Regions from separate parts of the Homo sapiens genome. Here region 2 is linked to region 1. The links are contacts of gene promoters, found by promoter capture Hi-C in human tissues and cell types (Jung and others, 2019). All regions are on one chromosome and are shown on one strand. Each heading gives the region's core, a stretch centred on a gene start or on the middle of the fragment in contact. The rest is flanking DNA. Distances are from core to core; before and after follow the strand shown.

The links. The method cuts DNA at HindIII sites, captures the fragments that hold promoters and counts their contacts. A contact is called where the count stands out against the background at its distance.
Region 2: a fragment that was not itself captured here is called in contact with the fragment with the promoter of ADAM23 in region 1 in 2 of the 25 tissues and cell types used here (dorsolateral prefrontal cortex and mesenchymal stem cells).

What each region holds. Positions count from the first base shown.
Region 1 is chr2:206,442,268-206,444,786 of GRCh38, reverse strand. ADAM23 (ADAM metallopeptidase domain 23) reads right to left here and starts at 1,255. Exons shown (of 26, transcript NM_003812.4): 1 at 707-1,255. The coding sequence starts at 920. RefSeq lists a silencer at 681-810. The HindIII fragment of the contact is 14,990 bases long and covers 1-2,519 here.
Region 2 is chr2:206,575,286-206,577,804 of GRCh38, reverse strand. The region is part of intron 18 of ADAM23 (ADAM metallopeptidase domain 23); the gene reads right to left. Among named protein-coding and RNA genes, the nearest start is that of FAM237A, 66 kb to the left of the region's middle. The HindIII fragment of the contact is 5,904 bases long and covers 1-2,519 here.

The DNA of each region.
Region 1 (2,519 bases), core at 6-2,505:
CTTCTCTTTTAACTTTAAGATGAGCAAACATACTTTGCCATGTAGGGATACAGATGCTGGCAGCTTCCCAATTTCTTTTTATTTTCCTGACAAAGCCAGCTTTCTGCTTTCAGTGACTTCCAATCATCAATATATAGAAGATGGTATTATATTAATTGTTCATTATAATGACAAGCACTTTGAGAAATCAGAACCAAAGGTCGTGCATGAAGTATGTCTTCAGCACCTTAATTCTTTGGTCCCCGAAGTGTGCCTCCCCCACCTTAATTCCAACCGCACTGAATGCGCCGGATACGAAATTTGAGGAAACAGCCCATTACCACTATTATCACTACATCCTCCCCGCATTCACATTAAGGTTCCACCACGCAAGTAGCAACTTGCTCCCTCGCTGTATTTCCCATCCACTGGTTGCCCCTCCGCAAGTTGCACAGAGATCGCTGAGGGACCCAGGATCCACTAAACACCTCCCAGTGGAACCAACAAGAATTGGAATGGGTTTTTCGCGAATGCAACAGAAATGGACTTCCAAAAGTGAACTGGGATGAATGGGGGTTTGGGAACGAGAAGGGTGGAAAGACAGGCAGGGAGGGAAGGAAAGGCCGAGCCGGGGACAAGCCCGGAGCACACGGACCCGCGCGCCCTTCGCTTTCCTCTGCAGGGCCCCGCGGGAAAGCCAACGCAAAGGGCACGGGGCCATACCCACCGCTGGGCGCAGCAGCCCCCCAGGCGCGGGGCCGGGACGAGGCGGCGAGCGGAGGCAGCAGGAGAAGGACGAGAAGCAGGCGGCAGGGCGGCGTGCGGGCCGGGGCGCTGGCAGGCACCGAGCCGGCGGGGCCGCGTTGGGGGCCGCAGGAAGCGCCGGCAAGGCTGCAGCCCGCCAGGGGCGGCTGCCGCGAGCTGCTGCCGGGCGGCTTCATGGCTCATAGCTCCCGGGCGCCGCTCCGTGTGGCCGGCGAGAGCGCCGGGCTAGCTGCGGGGCGGCCGCGGGCGGAGCCGGTCACGCCGGCTCGGCGCGCATGGTGCCGCGGCGGGCAGGGGGCTCCGGGCTCGGGGCACGGGGCGCGGGGCTCGGGGCTGGGCGGCGCCCCCTTTCCCGGCTCGCCTAGCCTCGCAGCCACTCCCGGGGCGGGACGCAGAGGAGTCCAGGGGTCCTCGCCGCTCCGCCAACTTGGAGCCTCCCCAGCGGCTACTCCCTCCCCCGGCGGGCGCGGCCGCTTCAGCGACTGCGGGGGCTGCCGCCGGGCCTGAGGATGCTGAGGCGGCGCGCGGGAGCGAGCGGCGCGGGGACGCGCGGGAGCGAGCGGCGCGGGGACGCGCGGAGCGGGCGTGCGCCCCGCCCCCCGAGAGCGCGCCCGAGCGGGGCTTCGGGTGCTGATGCTGTTGCTGGATGCTGTGCTGCTGCTGTTGCCTGGCCCGGAACGCACTGCGCATGCTTTGTTGGGGGGCGGGGAAGGGGGTAAAGCAGCAGAGTGATGCAGCAGCCCAAGCAGCATCGGAGGTGACGGGTGGTACCTCAAAAGATGGGGGCGGTGGAGGGGGAGCCGGCAGTCACGGATAAGCCAGAAGAAAGAGAGTACGGGGGTTTCCAGGCCAGAGACAGGGATGATCGGGAGAAAACAACCAGCCGAAGTCCACCTGCCTTTTCCACCACCCCAGACTTCACATACCCTCTCCTATTCCAACCTCTTCCTGCTCTGGATAAACTAAGGCCACGCATCTCCTTCTTAATCCCTTATATATTTGCTTCCTGCATGTAAATATAAAGGATTGCAGCCGGGGAGGTAAAAATAGCGCGGCTCCTCATTCAGATTGCCAGCAGCGGGTGGGACTGCGGCTGAGAAGAGCGTTTGCGCCGCAGGCTGGCGCGGAGTGGCAGGAATCCCCCGCGCAGGGGCGCTCTGCCCCGGCCTGTGTCCTCCCTGCCGGTGCCTGGGGTCTTTGAGGAAAGCACAAGAAGCCGGACGGTGTTTGCTCAAAAGTTCAGAAAGTATGACTGGGCATATTCGGGAAGGACTTCGACATTCTGGCGGGGAAGCAATACAGAGATTAGAAACCAAGTGTGTGGCAGCTATCTTGGGAAATCCGTTGTTTGTCAACCACGGGGATGGGCACACATTTAGGAGGACACATTTCTATTTTTGAGATCCAGTCCTGACTTCTGCAGAGGAAAGGGGAAGTTTTCTCTCGTTGCTGTAAAAAATGTAAATCCCTGACTTCGGTGGGTTCGCAGCCACTAAATCTGATGGCTTCAGATAAGAGTCTGTGGCATATTTCTGCCCCCAAACTCTCATAATGCAAGCATTCATTTATTCACCCTCCCAATGACAATCTGAGTGATAACAATGTTGTCTTACTCCGACATCCACGGGGTGAGGGCTGGGGTGGAGAATTCCATGATTAAAAGAAAGAATGTGGGTATAAAAGTGCCATGGCCATGACAGAACTCAGTGTTAGCCATCATCTTCTCCACTCACACTTAACAAAGAGAAAAGAAGAAGACATATACGCGCGCGCAC
Region 2 (2,519 bases), core at 9-2,508, 130 kb before region 1:
ACCATTTGACCAAGCCATCCCATTACTGGGTATATACCCAAAGGACTATAAATCATGCTGCTATAAAGACACATGCACACGTATGTTTATTGTGGCACTATTCACAATAGCAAAGACTTGGAACCAACCCAAATGTCCAACAATGATAGACTGGATTAAGAAAATGTGGCACATATACACCATGGAATACTATGCAGCCATGAAAAATGATGAGTTCATGTCCTTTGTAGGGACATGGATGAAACTGGAAATCATCATTCTCAGTAAACTATCGCAAGAACAAAAAACCAAACACTGCATATTCTCACTCATAGGTGGGAACTGAACAATGAGATCACATGGACACAGGAAGGGGAACATCAGACTCTGGGGACTGTTGTGGGGTGGGGGGAGGGGGGAGGGATAGCATTGGGAGATATACCTAATGCTAGATGACGAGTTAGTGGGTGCAGCGCACCAGCATGGCACATGTATACATATGTAACTAACCTGCACAATGTGCACATGTACCCTAAAACTTAAAGTATAATAATAAAAGAAAAAAAAAAAAGAAAAAATGCCCTTATTCTAAATTGGCATAGCCACATGTGAGATTTCTAATCTATTTGGTTTTAGTTTAGGCTAATAAAAGACAGTTGCTTATCATGGGAATGTTTAACGAGGGAAATTAGGGAATGTACTATGTTCTCTGGGGACATTTAAAACAGGAAAACCATAAATCTGTGCACTTTATTCTGCTTATGAGTGGAGCATTGGATTCAGTCTCTAAATGTCATTCCAGAACCTTCCTTGTACATTATGCTATACAGGATGGTTCACTTGAGGCAGGCAGGCTTCAATAGTGCAATAGCATTTAGAAGTGTTTATTTTAAATTATGTTATACTACCCACTTAGATGACATATTTCATAGCACTAACAAAAAACATTTCTCCTATTTCTGCTATCTTTCAAATATCTGTATTACATCCACCAGTATTGTTTGTCAAGGATTTCTCTTAATTACGTAAGTATTGTTTATTCTATTATAAACCGTAAGTTTAATAAGTAGCTCTGAGGCATCAGTAAATGCTAATATAAAAATTAAGAAAAACACATTATGAGGTAAAAGAGATAAAGTCATAATGTTGCCTGTAAATACTGATTCTCAGAGTTGTAGAGATTCCATTTTCTTAATTATTAGTAGTATTAATTAAATTCAAAGCTCATTATTTCTTAAGGAGAAAAAGAAGAATTTTGGGGGGTTTTAACTCCCTCTACTTCTATTTTAGGTTCATCCTGATCATGCTAGAAAAATATTAGCAAAAATATTCTATTCTAATATGTACTGAGAAATTAATTTAACAGTATAATTTTCAGCTTAGACACATGCTATAAAAAGAAAAAATGTTTTACTTAGACAATAGAATATTAGGTTAAACAAAGAGTTCTCATCATAAAAATCTTATTTCTAGTAAATTCTATGGCACTTAAAGAGTTAAAGATTGAAATGAAAAAACTATACCTCTAAAAGGGCTGAATACACAGAAGTTTTTAAAACCATATATGGTAAACATAAAAACAGTAGTATTCTACAAAGCTAAAAATATAACTCTGAAACAGTGTATCAGTATTGTCAATACACGTCATTAAACACAGAACCTACAATTCTCATACTTTGTCATTATATTACAGAAAATTGCAAAAAAACCTATTTATATATTGAAATGTAAGAAACAGATATGCATAAAAATCATGAAAACACGGCCTGAACATATTTCACTGTACCATTTCTTTAAGAGGGTCCATCTGAATTGAATTTCAAATAATATATATCAACACCTTTACAAAAATGTTACTTAGGAACCCTTCTTTCTCTCTCCTCATTTTTTCTTCTGGTTAAGGAACTCAGTGTAACCCCAGCTCCCCTACTCCTTACTCACTTCCATCATTGGGAGGTGGAGTGACTGACCAATGATAAGCTTGGGAAGAAGAACTAGGCATTCCGCCACAGTTCTGCCATTCTTTTATAAGCAAGCCTACCCACATAAACCATGCATTTTCCATTGCTCCCCGTGCCATACATTGTCCTTCTGGACCCAATTTTGTCAGTAACCTGTTGCTATAGCCTGAACTGGGATCTTAAAGATAACTTTTAGCCCTCACATTAAGCTACAGCCTTCAACTTGGCCATTTTCAATAATAAAAGTGATATTTTGACTGCCAAGTGTACTCTATTGGGAGCCTCTTGGAAAGCACAATGCCTAGCAACAGGTAACCCCATTTTTAGGAGCTTGTCCTGAGGAGCTAACCCTGAACAAGAAACACTCTTTTAAAAATGCACAAAGATGTTCACTTCTATACTACTAATAATAAACTGCCAAAATCTAAATACCCATACTGGGTATAAATCAACTGATAAATCCACATGACAGACTCTCATACAATCGTGAAAAGAATTAACTATAAAAACTGTGTAACAGTATGGGGAAATGCTTTTAAAATAATGTCAGAATTAAAATGAAGGTAGAATGAAATCTAA